2 separate regions of the Homo sapiens genome follow, and region 2 is linked to region 1. The links are contacts of gene promoters, found by promoter capture Hi-C in blood cells and fetal thymus (Javierre and others, 2016). All regions are on one chromosome and are shown on one strand. Each heading gives the region's core, a stretch centred on a gene start or on the middle of the fragment in contact. The rest is flanking DNA. Distances are from core to core; before and after follow the strand shown.

Region 1 (3,529 bases), core at 450-2,949:
TGAGTGAGGTCCAGAAATTGATTAAGTCAACTGGGTGCAGTGGCTCATGCCTGTAATCCTAGCACTTTGGGAGACTGAGGCAGGCAGATCACCTGAGGTCATAAGTTTGAGACCAGCCTGGCCAACATGGTGAAATCCCATCTCTACTAAAAATACAAAAATTAGTTGGGCTTGGTGGCCCGTGCCTGTAATCCCAGCTACTTTAGGAGGGTGAGGCAGGAGAATTGCTTGAACCCAGGAGGGGGAGGTTGCAGTAAGCGGGGATCGAGCCAGCGCCCTCCAGCCTGGGTGACAGCGAGAGACTACATCTCAAAAAAAAAAAAAGAAAAAAAGAAATTTAGTCTACCCATTCTCCCAGACAACTCAGCCTGAGGAAACACACTGAGAAACAATGATAACCTCCGAGGAACAGGGTTCAAGGTCTCCCAGAGTGGGGTGGAGAAGGGGAGGGGAATTAATGTCAAAGCTTGGCCTGGAAGGATGACGTGCTCCCCAGGTAAAGGAGGTCAGGACAACATCAACATCCGGACATGGGACTCGGCTTGGACATACGCTGGAAAAGTGGATTCTCTCACATAGTCAGCTGGCCCTGAGAATTGTTGGTTTTACACTCAGACCTTGGTGGCTTTCCGGGTTCTGGGGGCTCAGGCAAGAGGGCCATAGGCCAGATTCATTCCCTGTCTCCAGGCCTCAGTTTACCCGTGTGTAAATGTGGAACTAACTGATTTCCCAGGGCTCGGGCGCCTCACCCGGGCCAGGTGGCGCTCTACCCAAGGGGCGCGACCAAATCAGTGACGTCACTCGGGGCGGGGCCGGCAAGACACGCTGCGGAAGCCTCAGAGGGTGTCTGGGCTCAGCCCGGAGCCGGCGTGTGGGGGCGGGGGCTCCCGGGAGGGTCTCCTCACCTCCGGGCCCTCCTGAGGGCTGGGATGATCCTGCTGTCCTCCGCAGGCGAAACTGAGTCAGAGCGGGGCGTGCGTGGGCCGGAGGCTTTACACACCAAAGAAGCCGGCGCCTCCTGCCCACCCCGGGCGAATGCCGGGCCCCCCACTCCCGCACTCCTCGCCAGTCCCCACCTCCACCCCACCCCACCCCCGACCCTGCGGCTGTGAGTCAGCGACCGACCGCGCCCCCTTGGCCCACTTCCTCCTCACCTTCCCGGGGCGGGCGGGGTGGGGTGAGAGGGGTTGGGCCCTACTCCCCCGACTTCCACTCCCGTGCGGGTGGGGGTCTCGCCCCCTTAGTAACCTCTCCGAAATTGACAGAAGAGAAACGCTGGGGAGGGGCGGTGTTCCGAAGATGGGATTTCAGGGAGAAAATCTGAGACCACTTGCTTAACTTGAGGGTCCTCCTCGACCCCCAAAATTGAGCGGAGTACGAGATGGAGAAGTCGATGGGGAAAGAAATCGCGCCCCTTCCGAGACCCTCCTCAGAATTCCCACAGTGGGAGCGAACTAGGAAGCAAGGGAGGTCCCCTTCCCCTTCACCAACTTGCCCCTCAGGTGGGGGTGATTCCCAGGGTGCACCCCTGGGCTACAACATTGGGGAGAGGAGCGAGATCGCGGAAGCCGAGGGTGCAGAGTTGCCCTTTTAAGCGCCCTCCACCCCCTCGCCTGGAGGCGCACGCGGCCCCTTTAAGGCGCGGGGCATTGTGGGTGCGGGGAGTGGAATTTTGGAACGAAATGTAACGAAGAGAAGTACAGTAGTAAGAGTAACACTGTAGCCGCCACCGGCAAGGGGTGCGCGCTGGGGAGCGGACGCTGCATCCCCTTTCTGCTGCAGGAACCTCTCATCAGACCGCCTGAGGGAAGCGGCGCCCGGAGACCCGCCCCGGCCCGGTCCACATTCTCCCCAGGAAGCCGGACTCTATGGGGCGGGACCCTGGGGGAGCCTGAGCCGAGCCCGGAGCCAGCCCCGAACCCCTGAACCTCCAGCCAGGGGCGCCCCGGGAGCAGCCAGCCCGTGGGCGAGCCGCCCGCCCGCCGAGCAGCCATGAGGTGAGCCGGACCTGCCCCCCGACCCGTCCCCGCCCGGGCGGGCTCCGCGCCCCGCCTTTGTCCCCCTCCCCCCCAGCTAGCTCCGGGCTGGAATTTGGGGACAGATCCTTGGGAGCCTCGGATTTGAGCTGAATCCCCTTGGACGCGCCCCAGAACCGTCGATCACTTCTCCACGACTGACTCCCCAAGCTCGGGGGGTGGTGGCGGTGAGGTTCTCCTGGGAGCCCTCAAGATTTGGGGGCGCTCGGAGGACTCCCGAATTGTTAAGACTTTTTTTAGAGGACCTCAAAGTTGGCAGCGACTCCCCGCAGGGATGCCAGGATTGAGGCAGGGCTCAGACTCTCCTCCCCCTCCCCCCAGACTTCAGCTCGAGGTCCGGGAAGGATTGTGGGGGACCGATTTGGGATACCCTGGGACTTGGAAGAGAGACTGAGACTCAGACCCTGGGTGTGCAGGTCCCCCGTTTACTTGGTGCTGGAAAAAGTCTCCCCAAGTGGGACCGCGCTCCATAACTTCGGGGGTACTTCTTAATCCCCTGGATTTTGGGGGTCACTTAGGTCTTCCTGTGGAGGAGGCTGGTGTGAACCGATCCAGGGACCTGGACGCAGCCTCCAGAGTCTGGTGGGACCCCCCCCTTCCCCGTCGCTCCGCACACAATCTGCTTAACTGGCCGTGCCTAGGACCGAGCGGGCGCTCGGAGCAGAGGGCGGCTCCCCGCCTCCGGCCATAAGGGCGGCCCGGCTCCCCCACCTGCGCGGCCCTGGAGAGGGAGGGGGCGCGGCAGCTGGGGGAAGGGGGCCTTTGTCTTCCTGACTCACCTGTCGAGACAGCTGGTGTGGGGGGCGGGCACCAAGCGCTGTAGGCCGGCTGCCTTCCCCACCACGGCCCCTCCCCCTTTGCTCACCGTCCCCCTATCCACCCGGAGCCTTGGGGTTGGAGGAGGGGGAGCTGGAAAGCTTCAAGGTCATAGCCCTCTTCCCTAGGGACCCAGGCTTCCCAGATAATTCCAGCTATCTTCCCAGGAATTTAATCCTGGGGGTGGCGGCCCAAGGGACCCAGGGATTTGGTCTGGCCGGGGCCTCCCCCGAACTCCTGGGCTCACCTGAGGGCGGGGCCAGTGTGGGCAGGGGGGCCCAACCATCCCCCCTATTCTTCCCTCCCCTGGCCCCCCATAATCTCTCCCATGGGGCCAGAGCCTGACAATACTATCTCCCTTCCTCTACTCTCTCTGGGACTTCCTGCCCCAAAGCCCCCAGCCTGAGCAGGGAGGCCCCTGGGGACGGTTGGGGATTAACCCCGTGGTGCCCACATCCCCCGCATTTCCTGAACCCCTGCCCTTTGACATCGGAGTGGCGTGGCATTCCTTTTTATGACCACTAGAGAATCCCCCTCCCGCGTTTGTTCCTTCTGATGTGAAAGGCATGGCTGGAAAATTTGGAGCAAGGAGGACACCCACAGATACCCTCAAGACTTCCTGCCTATCCGCTCCCCATTATAGCAACATCCCTTCCAAGTCCGCCCTGGAGAGGGGT
Region 2 (3,529 bases), core at 259-2,758, 180 kb after region 1:
TCTCAAACTCCTGAGCTCAGGTGATCCACCCGCCTGGCCTCCCAAAGTGCTGGGATTACAGGTGTGAGCCACTGCACCCGGCCCTTTTTTCTGTTTCTTATCTATTTAGTTTAGAGATAGTATCACACTGTCTATAAAACTCACAACCATTCTCCCAGGCTAGTCCTAAACTTCTGGGCTTAAGCAATGCTCTCACCTCAGCCGCTGTGCTGGTGGCACTGACTGCGTTCATCACCTGTCTAATCCTCCTGTCTTTCAGGGCAGACCAGAGGCTCCTGGGTACCTGGTGCCCCTGCACTGCAACACAGGGCTGGACACACAGGGGGCATTTGGGGGATGTTTGCTGAAGGAACAAACATAAAGAAAGGCTGAAAGATACACATATATAATTTTTGAGATGGAGTCTCACTCTGTCACCCAGGCTACAGTACAGTGGGGCCATCTCAGCTCACTGCAACCTCCATCTCCGGGGTTCAAGCAATTCTCCTGCCCCAGCCTCCTGAGTAGCTGGGATTACAGGTGCCTGCCACCATGCCCTGTTAATTTTTGTATTTTTAGTAGAGACGGGGTTTCACCATGTTGGCCAGGCTGATCTCAAACTCCTGACCTCAGGTGATCCACCCGCCTTGGCCTCCCAAAGTGTTGGGATTACAGGTGTGAGACACCACGCCCGGCCAGTTTTTGTATTTTTAGTAGAGACAGCGTTTTACCATGTTGGCCAGGCTGGTCTCGAATTCCTGACCTCAGGTGATCTGCCCGCCTCCACCTCCCAAAGTACTGGGATTACAGGTGTGAGCCACCATGCCTGGCCCCAAAAGATACTTTGGTCAAGCGAGGCCAATTCATTATAAGAGGTAGAGAAGAGAGCAACAGAGTGACAAGGAGAAGCTCAGGAAGATTAAAGCAGGAGAGCTAAAATGTTCTCCAGAGCCACAACTGGGCGCTCATTTCCATGCAAACTGTTTGCTTTGCAGATGGAGAAAGTGAGGCCTCGATGGGGCAGAGCCAGGGCCTCTCCACTTGCTCAGGGGTCCTGCTCCCACCATTCAGTCCGATACCAGCTGCCTCCCCCAAGCCCTCCTGAATCCACCCCACTCCCAAGGCTCTGGAAACAGATACCACTAGAAAAAAACACAGAGCTTTATTATTCTCAACACCAATGGCAGCGGTCTTCATAGGACAGAGGAGTGAGTTCTGTCAACAGACAGGCGGCCCCTACTTGCCGGCGATGAGCGGGTTCCGCAGGACCACGATGACTGAGTCCCCGCGCAGGAACATCTTGGAGATGTAGCGGTCTTTGTTGACTGGCTTGGACTTCTTCTTGCCCTTGCCACTCTTGGGTACCTCAGTCCACATCTCCTTCACGTTCTCCAGCACCATGTTGCAGTGCCTGGTGGGGAACAGGGAGGGGAGGCACTGGGCGTGAGGGGCGTGCCTCTGACAGTGCCCCCTACTGCCTGCTGCTCGCCCCCTCCAGCAGCATGGCTTGGGGAAGGGTGCAGGTGCTAGGCCGGGATGACCAAGCTGCCAAAGCAACTCTGCCAGTCCTTAGGTTGAGGCTGAGGCAAAGGACTGCACCTCTCTGTGCCAGTTTGCTCCTTTTTAAGAGGGAAGATAATCACGTTACCTTCCTCACAGGGCCATTGAAAATTATCATTTTCTTTTTTGAGACAGAATCTCACTCTGTTGCCCAGGCTGCAATGCAGTGGTGCGATTTCAGCTCACCACAACCTCCGCCTCCTGGGTTCAGGCTATTCTTGTGCCTCGGCCACCTGAGTAGCTGTGAATACAGGCGTGCACCACCACGCCTGGCTTTTATATTTTTAGTAGAGATGGGGTTTCGCCATTTTAGCTAAGCTGGTCTTGAACTCCTGACCTCAGGTGATCTACCCGCCTTGCCTTCCCAAAGTGCTGGGATTACAGGCATGAGCCACCACGCCTGGCCATACACCCCAGGCTTCTGAGACAGCTGTCTTTGAGCTCTTCAGACTGGAGCTGGAGTGGCCTCTCCAGGCCTGCGGAGAACACCTCCCAGGACCCAGCACTCACCTATCGAAGGCCTTCACGCGGCCCAGGAGTTTCTTATTGTTGCGGCAGTTGATGAGCACTTGGGTATTGTTCTTGACTGACTGTGTGAGCACAGAGAGTGGACCGGTGTTAAATTCCTCCTCCTCTCGCTTCTGCAGCTCCTCTGGGGTCATCTCACTCTTGGGCTTGTTGAGGAGGCTCCTGCATGGACAAACATGGAACCAATAAGTGAGAGAGGCTGGAGTTGAGAGGCTGGAGCTGTGAGGATGGGTGATCAGGGCCTTGGCTTCAGTGTCTCCCCAACCTTGTCCCACCACATCTGTCCTCCTGTTCAGCCTTCTGAGTATCATCAGCTAGATGCCTAACAGACATTTTTTTTTTTTTTGAGACGGAGTCTTGATCTGTTGCCCAGGCTGGAGCGCAGTGATGTGATCTCGGCTCACTGCAACCTCTGCCTCCTGGGTTCAAGCGATTCTCCTGCCTCAGCCTCCTGAGGAGCTGGGACTACAGGCATGCACCACCTCCACGCCCAGCTAATTTTTGTATTTTAGTAAACAGGGGGTTTCACCATGTTGGCCAGGATGGTCTTGATTTCTTGACCTTGTGATCCACCCGCCTCGACCTCCCAAAGTGCTGAGATTATAGGCGTGAGCCACCGTGCCCAGCCAGACATTTTCAACTCTGCATGTCTCAGGTCGGGATCCAGATCACCCAACCACCCAAGCCTACCCTATCTACAGCGTTCCCCATCTGCTTTGATGGTAACTCCATCCTTCTAGTTCTCTGGGCAAAAACTCTTTTGTCAACTTGATTCCTCTTTTTCCCTCACATCCTACATGAAATCTGTAGGAAATGGCCGTTTCTTACCATGGCCTAAGCCTCTGTCATCTCTGTCCTGGAATCTTTCTGGTCTCTCTGCCTCCACCCACGTTCCCTGACAGTCTGTTCTCCACAGAGTGGTCTGAGGGGGTTGTGCTAAAACCTAAATCATAACATGTCACTCTTCAAAACCCTCCCAGGGTATGGGTACAGTGGCTCATGCCTGTAATCCTAGCACTTTAGGAGGTCAAGGTGGATTGATCACTTGATGTGAGGAGTTCGAGACCAGCCTGGCCAACATGGTGAAACCCCATTTCTACTAAAAATACAAAACAAAACAAAACAAAACAACAATAAAAAAAACAACCAACAGAAAATTAGCCAGGCGTGGTGGTGCACGCCTGTAATCTCAGCTACTCGGGAGGTTAAAGTAGAAGAATTGCTTGAACTCAGAGAGTCGGAGGTTGCAGTGAAGTGAGATCATGCCACTGCACTCCAGCCTGGGTGACAGAGCGAGACTCTTGTCTCAAAAAATAAATAAATACAAATTAGAAAATACAAAAATTAGGCCAGATGCGATGGCTCACGCCTGTAATCCCAGCACTTTGGGAGGCCGACGCGAGGTGGATCGCCTGAGCTCAGGAGTTCGAGACCACCCAGGGCAAGATGGTGAAACCCTGTC

The links. The method cuts DNA at HindIII sites, captures the fragments that hold promoters and counts their contacts. A CHiCAGO score of 5 or more calls a contact.
Region 2: a fragment that was not itself captured here is called in contact with the fragment with the promoter of VASP in region 1 in 12 of 17 cell types (naive CD4 T cells, total CD8 T cells, naive CD8 T cells and 9 more); the score reaches 15.7 in naive CD4 T cells.

The regions. Positions count from the first base shown.
Region 1 is chr19:45,505,780-45,509,308 of GRCh38, forward strand. It overlaps VASP (vasodilator stimulated phosphoprotein), which reads left to right and starts at 1,700. Exons shown (of 13, transcript NM_003370.4): 1 at 1,700-1,997. The coding sequence starts at 1,993. It overlaps LOC107985314 (a long non-coding RNA gene), which reads right to left and starts at 1,595. Exons shown (of 2, transcript XR_007067269.1): 1 at 906-1,595. RefSeq lists silencers at 761-1,010, 1,041-1,170, 1,851-2,030, 2,625-2,824 and enhancers at 1,365-2,149, 1,431-1,700. The HindIII fragment of the contact is 2,487 bases long and covers 465-2,951 here.
Region 2 is chr19:45,686,338-45,689,866 of GRCh38, forward strand. SNRPD2 (small nuclear ribonucleoprotein D2 polypeptide) reads right to left here. Exons shown (of 3, transcript NM_001384647.1): 2 at 2,050-2,229; 3 at 1,123-1,390. The coding sequence ends at 1,216. Among named protein-coding and RNA genes, the nearest start is that of SNRPD2, 3.9 kb to the right of the region's middle. The HindIII fragment of the contact is 8,456 bases long and covers 1-3,529 here.